2 separate regions of the Homo sapiens genome follow, and region 1 is linked to region 2. Evidence: promoter capture Hi-C in 16 types of primary human blood cells and fetal thymus (Javierre and others, 2016). All regions are on one chromosome and are shown on one strand. The core of a region is centred on a gene start or on the middle of the fragment in contact, and the rest is flanking DNA. Distances in the headings are between cores, read along the strand shown. Region 1 has its middle 170 kb from the start of LINC01289. Region 2 holds the start of MIR124-2HG (MIR124-2 host gene).

The links. The method cuts DNA at HindIII sites, captures the fragments that hold promoters and counts their contacts. A CHiCAGO score of 5 or more calls a contact.
Region 1: a contact is called between a fragment that was not itself captured here and the fragment with the promoter of MIR124-2HG in region 2, in 1 of 17 cell types (M1 macrophages). The highest score is 7.6, in M1 macrophages.

Annotation. Positions count from the first base shown.
Region 1 is chr8:63,593,812-63,601,024 of GRCh38, reverse strand. No RefSeq gene overlaps it. Among named protein-coding and RNA genes, the nearest start is that of LINC01289, 170 kb to the left of the region's middle. The HindIII fragment of the contact is 6,207 bases long and covers 1,635-7,213 here.
Region 2 is chr8:64,367,837-64,375,135 of GRCh38, reverse strand. It overlaps MIR124-2HG (MIR124-2 host gene), which reads right to left and starts at 1,808. Exons shown (of 3, transcript NR_109792.1): 1 at 1,585-1,808. It overlaps LINC01414 (long intergenic non-protein coding RNA 1414), which reads left to right and starts at 6,578. Exons shown (of 5, transcript NR_125826.1): 1 at 6,578-6,795. RefSeq lists enhancers at 1,790-2,330, 3,480-4,004, 4,005-4,531, 4,532-5,057, 5,874-6,375. The HindIII fragment of the contact is 383 bases long and covers 1,463-1,845 here.

The DNA.
Region 1 (7,213 bases), core at 3,489-5,988, 780 kb after region 2:
TTTTAACAGTAATTCCAAGATGAAACTATTGAATTTGGCACAACATTTGGAAAGAAAGTAATTTCCCTAAATTTGAATTCATTTTCATGATCCTTAAGTATTTTCTTCAGTAGCTGCAAGCTAAGGATTCTGGCTATACAGAGAATGGTACAATTCCAACCGAAGATCAATAGCTTCAACCCAAATGAACTCAAGTGGTTAGTACATAAACATATCTATCAGCTGATTCTGACCACTTAATCTCAAGTTCCTGGGCTCAGAGCACAAAGACTGCAAAAGGTGCATGACCTGGATGAGCAGATTTACCCCTGCTGTCCCCTTGGTGATGAGAGCAGCATAGCCCTGACCAGTATTCAGCATACGCAGGTTACTGGAGCAGTTCAACTTCCATCAGAATCTTGACAGACTTGGATGTCATTGGCGATCTAGGCCTTGCATTCTGAACTGGTGGACCTTCTAGATTAGTCCTCTAGAATGAGTCTCTGGATGTTCTGCATAGGGTGTTTTACTGATTGGGTTTCTTTGGTTGACTTTTAGCATAAGAATCAAATGGAGATAACTTTCTATAATCTTTGCACCTGAATGTCCTCATTTCATAAAACAATATCACCTTTAGGAGATTGAATGGTAAAAGAATGTCTCTTTGGTGTTACATATTTACGTTTATGTGTAAGAAAGCATCGCATGCTAGAAATAATTTGCCTCCCACCACTCCACACTCCTGATTCTAAAAAGTAAAGCATGCTTATCAACTAAAATGAGTCACCTGTGCTTCTAAAGAAGGTTGTTGCCAGGTATATGCACCTAGTGTTCTCATTAAAATGTTTTGAGAATAAGAGCTCAGCTGTCTGTAGTGTCAGAGCATCTGATATTAATTTCTACCTGTCTTTGCACCAAACGACAAATGTGAACACTTGGACCAGCTATATTATTAATAGAATTCTGCAAATATTCATTTTAACTTATTTTATTAATGGAAAAAGAAAAATATTTTCATACATTCCAGTATTTTCTAAAATTAATTTCAGAATTGTAATAATTGCCTAGTTCTCTTTCAGTGAAAATATTTAATAAAATCACTTGAGGAAATAATCAAAAGCATCAACAAGATGTATAATACTGTGAGTTTTCAACAGGCTGAATTTCAGCCAATTAGATGCAATTTGATAAATTTGATAAAATTAGATAAAAAGAGAGAAAAAACTCTTCTGAAAATTGTGTTAAAAACATAACCTTAGAGATTCCTTTATCTAGAAAAAAAGATTTTTTTATGCTGTTGAGAGAGTAAAAAGGCATTCAATATGAAAACCTAACTTTAATTGGCAACCAGATAAATCTCTAAAAATGAATAAAAGGCATGTCCCAGTGTTATCTAAGTTTGTTTAAGAACATTACTATTTAAACTTCTTCCTTATCTTTGTGAGCTCTAAATTAAAACAAAGCAACAATATTTCAGGAACCATGCCCCTCACTAAGATTCACTGATGGAAGAACTCTGCAAAGAGCTATAGGTGTTCCCCCTCCACTGGTGATAGATGATGGGTTCCTGATGCCAGCTCTTCATGGGTTATATTAATAGTCCTTGGTGCCTGGATTAATGTTCATTTGAAGCACAACCATGTAGGCACTAAGCTTTTATCCAGCATCCTTACATTCCATAATTCTCTAAGTCATGGAAAGAACAAATATATCTTTGTCTAGTAAGCTATCAGGAGAATTCTCTCTCTATATATGTGAGGCCAGGGGTTTAAATGAGGGTAGAATACACCAGAGCCAATCTTCCTGCCTCTAAACTCTCTCTCCCAGCCATTCTGGTATTTTGTCAAGTTGACTCAAGTTTATTCTTCAGTTTACTCCTCTCTTTAAAATTCTCGGTGACTCAAGGTCAAGGACATAATCCTTGACTTGGTATATAAGATCAGACAAAATGCCAGGTAAAGTGCAAGATGGCCAGATAAATTTGAATTTCAGATAAAAGACAATTTTATTTAGTGTAAGTGTGACCCATGCAGCATTTGGGAACATAGACTAAAATATTATTTGTTGTTCATCTGAAATTTACGTTTAACTGAGCATCTGAATTTTTAGTTGATAACTCTGACACAGACTCCCAGTCCCAACATCTCTTGTCAGCTTCCTCTCCCACTGTTGCAGAACAAACCCTCTGCTCTAGCCACAACTGCGGCCTCCAAGTTCCTCACACTCCTGCACTTTCGTGACTCCACAGTGTTATTTCAGTGTTCTTCTGTCCAGGAGGTCCTCCTTTCTTCGTTCTATTAAAACTCTACTCGGGAGGCCAAGGCGGGCAGATCACGAGATCAGGAGATCGAGACCATCCTGGCTAACATGGTGAAACCCCGTCTCTACTAAAAATACAAAAAATTAGCCGGGCATGGTGGCGGGCGCCTGTAGTCCCAGCTACTCGGGAGGCTGAGGCAGGAGAATGGCGTGAACCCAGGGGGCGGAGCTTGCAGTGAGCCGAGATCGTGCCACTGCACTCCAGCCTGGGCGACAGAGCGAGATTCTGTCTCAAAAAAAAAAAAAAAACAACAGCTCTGCTCATCTTGAAGATTGAATTCAAACTGCATCATTTCTATTTTTTTTTTAATCATTCCATAGTCAATTCCTATAACACATTGTTTTTCACATAAATACAATTGTTTCCTGCCTTCTGGCTTATCACCCATAGTTAGTCTTCAAATTTTGTTTAAATCCTGGAGTAGGTTTTACCTTTTCTCATACTTAGGTCTCACATCCCCATATAGTCTATAAGCCCCATGTGGTAGGGTTGCTATTTATCTTGTACGCTTGCAAACTGACCACAGAAAGCAGAGTATAGTTTCAGAAAGAGAAGCAGAGGCGAAAACTGATGTTAGGAAAGGCCTACAATATGCTGGAAGTTTTACATGGTATTTTTTTCATCCTTATAGCAAACTAACAATATCTTCACTTTACAGCTGAAGAAAACATAGCTCAGAAAAGTTAAGCAACTCACCTAAGATAACGGTAACAGAGGCAGAATTTGAACCCAGGTCTGACTTGAGTAAACACCATGCCACCCTCTCCATTAATGCCATTGTCAGCTATTGCTGCAGCAGTCACCATTAAGTTTTTAATGTTGGTGTGAAGTCTCAGGAAATGAAAAATCTAGGCCAGGCAGCTGAGGTCAAGTAGGCAACTAAGGAAGTTTGTAGGAAGCACGATTGCAGCTGGGGCATACTCTGCCACCTTGGGAAAAGCAAGAACAGCTGGGGCAGCAGAAGAGACAAACCCACTGCATGGGGTGAAGAAAATTAACTGGAGTAGGAATGGAGCTGACTCCACATTTCCTGATAACTGAATGTTTGCAAGCAAACAGCAGTATAGAGCCAGCCCAGGCAGAGAGGCTGGCCCCACGCTTTCCCTGTGGTCTGAGGCAATCAGGGTCTTGCTGCAGAACATGGTTGCTTGGAGAAAGGAGGAAAGGAGAAAAGCAGCAAGCAAAAGCTGAAAGTTGAATTCCCAGCAGAAGCTAGGCATTTATGTGCAGTAATTGCCGGTAGGTCAGCAGATTCTTAAACAGCATGAAGGCTCCCAAAAGGTCAGTGAACATTTTAAAAATTTCAGTGCACATTTGTGCACCACTGCATGCTTTGCTGTTTTCCAGCTCCAAGCTCCACAAGGAATAAATGTGGTTATTTTAAGGTCTGGAAGCCTCATCCTACCCTATGGAAAATACCATCTACTAGAGAAACACACTTTCTTTCACCTTTCTAGTCTTTTGGAAGACTTCTCTAGTGATAAATTTTATTTATGCCTCCCTACTGTTCAGAGACCTCTGCAGTCAGCAGGGGTGAGATAGCATAGAGGAGCTGGATTTTCTCCCTCTCACATTTGTGGGTTTATGGCATGAAGGCCTATTATTTTAACATATTCTGTGTAAAGTGTGAAACACTTGGAAGAGAAAACATTCCAGAGAACATTTCACCTGCCCATTTAATAGCATCAGTAGCTAAGACTAAAAGCAAACTGTGGTCGTCAGGATAAGCAATGATCCCCCCCAGTGCCAAAGATATTATAAACTCAGGATCAATAGAAATTACAAAGCAGTGTTGCTTTTATTTTTAGCTTTAACCTTCGAGAAAATCAAGGCTTCAGAATATTGAATTGGATCAGCACATCAGTGATTGCAGACACAGATACAATTAGGGAATCTGGATGCAGCCAAACAATTATAAATCTTCTTAGTAAAGTGCCTTGGTTTCCTCTCCACTGTGGATATTCCCACAAATAAAGCATCCCATTGTACAGAGCTTCTTTTGTTTTAATGTATATCAAAGTGCATTTCCAGCTCACGGTTACAGAATACTCTATTTTACATATAAAAAAATTAAAATCAAGCAGTTTATAAACCCTAGATGCTGATTGACATATTAGTTGTTTAGCCAAGGTGAGTGGCTAAAATGGAATTAAATGCATGAGATATTACTCATGTCACAAGATGTAAAATGTGTAAAATTTCAGCTAACTAAAATACCCTCTACAATCAACAAATGCTTGGTGCATTAGGGACCCCTGTTCAGCCATAAGGCTGCAATATCCCTTCTAAGGACCATTTGCTTTCTGAAGCACCTGCCATCTGTACTCTATGATCTTGAATCCTTTCCTTCTGAGGTTGCTTTTCTGCTTACTTGTCATTATTTCCAATAGCCCAAAAATTAAAACTTGAAGGATGGATATAGGATATTTTGGAGGCAGGACAAAAGTGAATAGCGTGATAGGAAGCCAAGCTCCTTGGATAAAGACCCAGCTTATTATCTATTTTAGAAGCAAGACAAATGCTTCAGACATTTCAAGGGCACACAGATATACTGAAATATGGAATCTTGCTAATAAATGAAAGCAGCTGAATGACCATGCTGGCTGGCAAGCAACCACCAGAGGTAAAGTGATTTTCTTTGAGCTAAATTGTGAGTCAGGTGCTCTTGCTCTCTGTCAGCTTACACACAGACACAGACACACACACACAGAGATGCACAATACACAGACACACACAAACACACAGACCACACAAATGTGCACTCTTGGAGTACGCACACTAAGATCAGATCAAATAATCTAAGTTAGAAGAAATTCATTCTTTTGCTTCTTATAAGTAAATATATGGTTGTGAATTATAAATATTATAAAACGTTACATCTGTGGGACTCAGGGGAAAGAAGGCCCACAGAAGACCATACTTACTTAATATGCCATCTTCATACGCATGAAGAGGTAAAAGTAGGGCCTTTAAGTGAAGATGAAAGGCAGCAGTATTGTTTATCCTACAGAAGAGCAGGTTAAGAGGTGATCTGATTACCAGTTTCAAGTACACAGAGGGCATTTTTATGAAGGTGATGGTGATTGGTTGCTCTCCATATTGGCAGAGGACCTGACAGGAAGAAATGAGCCTAAAGATAGAGTTCAGTTAAACATAAAGATAAATGTATTCAACTTCAAGTTGATAAAACACAAAAATGGCTGGCAGAGAGTGTGAAGAGTTCATTCCTGGAGCTCTTTAGAAGAAAATAAGTAGTTATTTTCCTGGTGTCTAAAATGAGATGCCTGCTTAAAAGAACCTGCCCAATGACCACTTACTTGTTTTAGGTTGATGGATAGAAAATGAGAATGGAATGTGGAAATGAAATGCTATGCAAATTATATTATAATGCCTCCAGTATTTATGATGTAGTTGGTACTCATTTACAAAACAATTCCTAGGAGTGTCAACACTGAACTCAATTTTGTTCCTTGCCCTATCAGCTGCATTTGACGCAGCTTATCACCCCTCCTACTTGAAATTTACCCTTCACTGGACTGCTGGGATGCCACTTCTGTGGTTCTCATTTTACTGCATAGGCACTCCTTTTCTATCACCTCAGCGTCTAAATGTTGACATACTCAGGCTCAGGCTCAGTCCTTAGACCTCTCCTCTTCTCTGGCTTTAATCACTTAATAGATGATTTCATCTAGTCTTGTAATTTCCAATTTCACATTTCACTTACATTTTGAAGATTCTGAAGTTTATATCTCCATCCCGGACTTCTTCCCTGAACAACAAACTCCTTTATCCAACTATCTATTCTATATGTCCTATTGGATCTCTAATAGAAAGAGGGATAATAAAATTAAGCTCCCAATTTTCTTCCACCCACATCACCAAAGTTGTCCCTGTCATCATCTTTGCCATATCTCTAAATGGCAACTCCCTTTTTCCAGTTGCTCAGGCCCAAGATTTTGGAGTCATTCTTAAAAACACTCTTGCTTCCCACTCCACATTCAATCCATAGCAAATTCTGTCAGTTTTACTCTCAAAATATATGCATAATTTAACCCTGTCCACTGCTACCACCCTGACTCCATCATTTCTTTCTTCCATTATTACAGTCTTCAATCATCTCTCCGCTTCCACCCTTGCCATCCTATGTAGTACAAGGTGATATTTTTAAAATATAATAGTTCAAGGTTGACATCAGAAAATGGTGGAATCATTTTCTACCATCATCTCCCCACAGTGCACTTACATTGATAGGCAGAAGTCCAGTGGAGAAGTACAAGCACACCATTGGAGCAAAAAATAACAAAACACACATATTGAAGTGGATAAGAAAAACAGTTTCATTTTACTCATTACCCCACCCCAAGGGGACATAGTTCAATGCCAAGAAAGACCCTCAAGTCCTTGGCCCACGAGTCCTTCCACAGAGGAAAGTGAGTGCAGTGAGTCCTGCCTTCCCCAGCCATGCAAGATGCTGCCAAAGAAGCCTACCTCTTTCTGGTCCTACCAATAGGACTAAGGGTGTTAACACAGCTGAATGGCTAGGAGAAGCTGAGAGCAGAAAACAGAGGCAAGGACTCACAGCAATTAGGTCTCAAAACTCAACAAAAGTCTGTGTATCCTACTAAATGCTTGACAGACTCAAGCAAGAGGACTCTCTGCAAGGGGCTTGAAATTCCTCACCTACAGACTCTCCTATCAACTGACACACAGGTGACTCCAATGCTTCATATATCTCCCCTTCCATCTCTCCTATATGACTAGCTCCCTTCATGTGCCCCCCAGATATCAAGTGTGAGCATTTGCAGGTGGCTCACAAGCACCTGTGGTCCTCAAGCTCAACTCCACAGAATTAGAAGGCACACAAACTTGAGCATGTCAGGTCACCCCCAACTCCATCCCACCAGGGAAAACAAA
Region 2 (7,299 bases), core at 559-3,058:
TATCTTTCAACCTGCAATACTTTTTTGGCGGTTTTCAAAAGAGACATAGACATTGTTGTACAGGAATCCTTGTCCACTTTTACATATGGTTTAACAAGTGCAGAAAAATTACAAAAATGACAAATTCAGGGGCAAAAGCTAAACAACCTTTTCAATCATCTCTCTCTCCATATTTACATCACTATATAGAGGCATATAGATAGCACACACACACACACACACACACACGCTAAGAGCATTAAACTAAATCCATCTCTAACACCTTACACTTTTTTTGTAGCAAAGCATATGTTCCAGTGGCTAAGATGCGGAATAATTCTTCTAGCCAAAATAGCATTTCATCTTCAGTTTAAAAAATAAGAGACTGACCCGGCAGAGTAACATTTAACATCTCCTGGGGTTTCCTCGAGCGTGAGAAAGGAGAAAGGGAAAGAAATATTCCCTCTTTCAAAAACGTAATTGTCCTTCGTTTTTTATTTTCTCCTTCACATTGTCAGGAAAAATATGTTTTTTATATATATGTATATATGCATATATAAATAGACACTTATTTTTCCAAACCCCAAGAGCCGCTGTTGATCTTTGGAGGACACCGATCCGCACAAACCGGTCATATCTGTGCTTTGATACAAGTACCCCAACGGTAAGAAAACAGGCCCTTGGTTTTAAACTGAGGTCAGCACCCACGCCAGGCCATGGGGCCGAGCCTCAGCGATTCACACTTTCTTGGGCACGAGAAGGCTACTTTCTCAAGAAGTATTTCGAACTTGGGAAAATCCTAGTACCGGAAGAAAATGGCCTAAACACAATAGGACTCGCCATTTTCTCCTTGTGAAGCACAAAGCGCTTGGCGCTGCCCGCCACACAAAGAAAGCCTGGGCCCGCGGAATTCTTGCACATTTTCAAGAGGCCAAAAAATACCTTCTCAGAACCACAATTTCTCCCTCCTGGGCGCCGTGAGACACACCCTCTCTCCCACCCTCATTCAGTCCTCGTCCCAAGAAGATCCCATATTTGAGATGGAGATAAAAGACGCACCGAAGGCGCGATGCTGGCGTGCGAGCCAACCCCGGCAAGAATAAGTCCTGAAAACCAAGGGGCCCGGCCCGCGGCTGGCCGGGGCTCCATTCTAGGCCCGGGGTGGGGGAACACGGATCCCCTCCCTCCTCTTCAGATCCCTCCTTCCAATTCCATTCTGTCTCCCAAGCGTGTCTGAGAGCCTGGCAAGCTTAGGGATCTCTGTGACCTGATTTCCATCCATTGCCAGGAACCAACCTTACAGCCCGGAGCTGAGCCGGCGGCTCTCAAGCATGCTCGCGACGCGGGAACTCCTCGACTCCGCGCCTCCCGCCGCCCCCCGCCCGCCACCCCAAGTCACCGCATCAAAGTCAACCAGGATCGTGTTCTGCACGCCCACAACCGGCGAAACGCTTCTCCCGCTCACGTGCGAAAAGTGTAAGCTTCGAAGAAGCCCCTGTGAACCAAAACACCAAAACACAAGCAACAACCCGATTCACAAAGCGAACACTCCCAGCCCAGCCGGGGACGCAGAGCCCGGCTACCGCAGGAAAGGATGGTACTTACAGCCGGCGTGCGCTCGGGTAATCCGCGTCGCAGTCCGTGCGGTGGTTAGTTGGCTTTTAAAAAAATCACTACACACCTCTACATCTTTGATTTTACACATCTTCCACCGGTGAGAAGGAACGAAAACAAGAATCTTGTAGCCTAGTAGAATGGGGGAGGGGGATGAAGATTTTCATTGTCTACGCTCGGCACACGCAGCCCAAGGAAAGACGCTCACTGCCTTTGGAGCTCCTTCTACTTTCTGCTTGAAATTCAGAAGCTTTCAACGCAGTAAAGCGGGGGTTTGGTCTCCCTCCCTGCCTCCCTCCCTCTGCGTTCTCTCTCTCCTTTCTCTCTCTCTCTCTGTCATTTCCTTCTCCCTCCTCTCCTCTCCCCTCCCTCTCTCAAGCTCGAAGTCTCTCTCTCTCTTTCTCTCTCTCTCTCTCTCTCGCTTTTTTTCAAAAGAGGGCAGGTCGCTTCCTGCATCCCAATGAGTTAAATCAGTCACTTACTTCTCATGCATCAGCAGCCTCTTTAACAACCCGAGGGCTGCAGGCACAAAAGAGCATTTAGCTGCCTCCAATTTGTGTAGAAGGCCTGTCCTTAATTTGTTTTTGGAGTATAATTAAATCATGTATTTCACGTAATATAAAAATACCGAATTCTCAACTTTAGTGAATGAACTGCTAATGGTAACCTTTGAAAATAAATCCCTCTTGTTGATGTTCTTATCAAGGGCCTAGAACGCCCCAGAATTGCAGAGGCCTAAGGTCTGGGCCCCAAACTACCTGCCCCTCCCCCCTTTCACATGTCAAGGTCACAGTCATATGATTCCCCCATTGCTTTAAAATGGAGCCTTTTATCAACCCGTCGCCCTGGAAAGGAATTAAGTCTCTTTTATGGGGTGGGAAGATCTGAAGGATTAAATAAATAAATAAATAAATAAATACATCCTTAATCTGAAATACACACGTCAGCAGAATCAAGCCTGATCAGACATTGGGATGGTGGCGTGGGGGGACTGACAGGGCATGTGAGAGTGAGTGGTTTTCCTCTCCCCGCTTATCCCCCTGGCGAATTTTGAGGTCGCTGGGTTTTGCTTGGGTTTCTTCCAGCGACTGCGTGGGACTTCTGGGAGGACAGGGCGGCGCCTTTTTAGCTCCCAGAGTATCTGAGGGGTTCTGATCTCCCGGACACCGCCCAGTGGTCAGGGGGATCCTGTGTATGACTCCCCCTCCTCTAAAGGGGCTGGGGTACAAAGAGCAACTCTGCCTTCCTGCAGTTTCTCTTTCAGGAAGAACTCCAGGCCTGGCCATTGTTCCTCCTCAATGAAGGGGGCTGAGGGTGACAACAGAGAGAGACCTTCTCTTCTCTACACTCACCACCCACCTCCTCCCTCACTCCACCCAAGGCCACTGCTAGGGAGAAATTTGGGAATATTTTCTTGTTCCGGAGAGACGCTTGTCTGGAAGATCATGAGATGTAATATCATGAATATCTCGGTTATCTTTGTATTTTCTTCAGTAAGATTCCGTTAAGTCGTCAGTGGGCTCCCTCACCCCCTCCCATTTTCCAGTTCTAACAGAGCTTGTTCAGAAACATTGCACTCCGATGCGAGAGAGGTTAGGACCGCAGATAACCGCATTTAGTTCCATCGAAAGGGAATGTAACAATATAACTCACCACTTCCCGCCTCTGAATATTCGCTCTTCTACCCTAAATCACCCTGGGGTTTTGAGTAAGGCCACATTTCACCTTGAGCATTTATCAAACCGTACTTGGCTGCTGCTGCTACTGCAGGAGGACTCACAGGCCGCCAACACCCACCTGACATCTGCTTGAAATATCCAACAATATCTCCAACCGGGTCGTTTGCAAAAAGCAGCAAACCAAAAATGAAAGAAGAATTTTAAAAAATACAGAAAGAATATAAGTGTGTGTATAATATAATCCCAAGGTGCTGGATTTGGGGGCTCGAATTACCTAAGACAAAACATCTCTGCAGTTGAGACCAGACCAAAGGCCTCACCACAAGGGTGTTTTATTAGCGGCGAGAGACCACGGTTTTTTGGAGGCACTACAAGAAATGCGCATCACCCCGCTGCCCTTTATCTCTCATCCATGATTCTCATTCTATCCGTTTCCAGTTTATTGACCTGGGATGCGGGACTGCTAAAGATCGTCAACGACTTGCTGAGCCTGGGGGAGGCAAAGTCACGCTGTGCGCACTGGGGCCCGCCGCTGGGAAGGTGCGGCTCTCTGCTCTGGTTAGCAGCAGAATCTGCTCTGTGGGGTGACGACTTTAGACCACCCCGGGTGGGCACTTTACCCAGCATCCTCCCCTCTCCCCCGACTCTGGCAATGCTAGCTTTGCCTCATCTTCCAGGGCCTTGGAATTTCAGCCTTGTTGGTGGGGAGGCCTTAGGAAAGAACCCAAGCGGTGGGCGCGTTTCCCACGAATGGGCCGCTCCCTCGCCGGCGGCTTATTCCGAGTGGAGGCCTCAAAGGAAAACGTGAGAGAGATCACAGGCAAGCACCCCACCATTAGTCCAAGACTTTCACCCCACCCCCACCCCATACAGATGGCTGGGCCGGGACACCTGCACGGCAGCCACAGTCTCCGCCTCCGTGCAGCTCTCGGGATGGGGATCACAGAATCGGGTCCAATAAGGTCATCAGCCACCCTGGGCCCAAATCGATCAACTCCACCCCACCTCACCCCATCCCCAGCCTTAAGAACCTTTTTCCGGACACTTTTCGCTTTCGATCCCCGCCTGGCGCCCTATGCCTAGGAAAGTGAGCGGGTGATTCCTTTCTAGCGCCAGGTTTCGGGTTTGCCCTGCTCTCAAACCTCCTCCTGCCCTGCGCACCTCGTCGCTCAGGCCTGGAACTTATGAAAATGTAACCCAACTCGTTGCCAGAAGTTGTTGCTAATTAGTGGATAATAAACTTCTGTAGCCAGGGCACAAAAGTCTTTTAAAAGTGCAAAGGTGTTCTTTGTTGTGGCATCAGAAAAGAGATTAGCATATCAATTGGACTGGGGGGACCGGACAATGAGTCCTCCTCCCCCTGAGCTGCCCTCAGTTCGCCGCCCGCCGCCGCCTCCTCCTCTTTGTGTCCTTCCTCCTCTTCTTCTTCTCGCTGCTCCGAGAGCTGTCAAGGCTTGGTCGGGGAGCTCTGGGCGGCAGGCTGGGACCGGGCAGGCAGGCGCAGTGCACGCTTCACGCCGCCCACCAGGCTCCGCGGCCTGCGTGGCGCCCACGCCCTCGCCCCTCGCCCCTCGCCCCACGCCCCTCGCTGGGGGCTCAGCCTAGCTCCGCGCCCAGGCGTGCACCTGGAGAAGGTGGAGGCGCGTAGGGACGCCTAGCCAAAGCGCAGCGGGTCTGGGAGGCCACAAGGGCGTGGACGAGGCCTGCCGGGGAGGGCGGCCTCGCACGGCCTCACGAGGCGCCCCCTCCCAATACTCGCAGCCCGGGCCCCGCAAGCCCGCGCCCTTCGCCTCCCCCAGGCGCATAAAACACTAACCGACTTTTACTCGTCTGGCCATAGGGCACCGCCAGCTCCCCACCCTCCTCCGGCCTCCACGCCAGACATGCTGGGCTGGCGACCCACGCTTGCATGCGTTGGGGGAAAGCAAAGACCCTTAGGCCCGAGGCAGCTGTTTCCTCAGAAGCTGTGGGTCCGCTCGGGTGGTCCCGGGGCGAGGTCCCTGAAGAGGCGAGGCGGCTGGAGCGGCCCAGGCCCAAGCAGGCCTGGTCGTCTCCCTGCGACCTCGCCTCGCCCCGCTGCCCCCACCGGCACCCCCTGCCCCAAGCCCGTCCTGCGGAAGTCGGCTCCTCTGGCCGAGGCAGAAACTAGAAAGCCTGCCCCGGGCCAGGTGCAGGAAAGCAAAGCAGAAGTAAGTCTCGGGCCGCAGATGCGGCCCTGGCGGGCAGGGCCTCGGCGCCCATTCCCGCCGCGACCTCGCCCGGCTGCGTACGCCAAGGAGCGCAGGATAGAGGCGCTGGTGTCTGCGGGGCCGCCCCGGGCTCGGAGAGCGGAGGAGCAGGGAAAGGCTCGGGGAAGGAATGTTAAAGGGGGACACTGGCAGCGACGGCGCGCTCCGCCCGCCCGCGGACTAGCCGGACCCGCCACTTCCCAGCCGGCCGCGAGGAGCTGCGGGCCGGGCCGGCAGCCCCTCGGCCGCGAAGCCCGCGCCACCCCGGTAACCCCGGCGAGGAAACGCGCTCTTTCCTTTTTCTTCTCCCCTCCCCCCTCCCCTTTCTCCCTAGAGGCAGCTCCCGTCCTCTAAATGCATTACACACACACACACACACACACACACACACACACACACACACACACACGGGAAATCTCTGGGGCTCTCCTTTTTCCACCGGTCTCGCCTCCTCCTAACACTGGTGTTGGTCGAACAAGCGCGAAACTCACAGAAGTTTCCCCGAAAACGAACAGCTTTAAATGCCAGGAGGGAAAATGTCGGGGGAAAAAGTGGAGGTCGGTGTTTCCCTAAATGCAAAACATCAGAGAGGAATCTGAAAAGAGCTTTACTTTCCCTGCGAAATCTCCATTGTTGCTCAGCAAACAATGGGAGCCTGGGCGACTGGAGGGCTGTGCGAATGAATAGGCGATCCGCGGGATGTGTGCGGGTCAGTGCCTGGGGTCCCGGGCCTAAAGCCCCTTTCTCAGCTTGCCACAATAAACCAGCGCAAGGTTTAGTCCTTACTGGGTCACCGGCCATCCTCTATTATTCAACACTTCACAACAAAAAACACTTATTAATCAGCGCTGACCAGAGGCCCCTTTTGAAACAAGAGAAGAGGGGAGAGAGAGAGGGAGTGAGAGAGAGAGGGGTGAAAAGAAGATTGAGAAGCCCTGGACAGATCTTTCTAAAGCCAGAGCAACCATGGGGTACTTTCCTCCAGTGGCCAAAGTTTATTTGACACAACAAAGTTTCTAATCAGGCCACGGAGACCTGGATTTCTCCTCATTTGCCTCACTCCCGGTCTCTTCCTCTGAAGATGCTGGAGACTTTGTTGCAAGAAAGGATGGCTTTAGGTCATGTTGCTGAGGCCTGATCTTAAAGATCTAATTGCTATTGGAAGAGAATCCTGTTTCCCAACTGGGCCTCCCCTCTGGAGATGGAGCAAGGAAGACTGTCCAACTCTGCTCTGGGCACCCTGCTGATGGATGAGGTGTCAGGCCAGTCGTCATGTGAGGACTGGTTTCCAAATGGTATGAGCAGTAGTCAAATGCGGTACTTATTGGTGATACTGAATGCAATCTGTAGATTTTCTACTTCATGTTGTTTCAGGCCAGATATATGAAAAAACTAAACTTGCTTGCTAGAGTGAAGAGAAATTGATTATTCCTATGCTCAGACAAGGATTGAGGGGAAAGGATATGATGAGTTTACTTTGAGAGAAGAAATTGATTAAAAATGTTCCATACCACTAAAGTCAGTGGGTTCTTTGCTCAACTTTGATAATTTTTACAGAGCTTATTTGATGTTTGTAACCTAATTTTGTGTCTTTTATTTATCTGGTTACATGATAATTATGAACACATGCTCAGACATATATGGACCCTACTATACATCAAAGTGAAGTGCTACCTACGTCAGTTTTATGGATGAGTTTAATCCATTTAGAACTCAGCTAGACATTTTTGATGGCAAAATTTTGTTGCTTTTTGATTTGGGGTTGGAAGCCAATATTTCTTGGTTATTCTGTCTGTTTC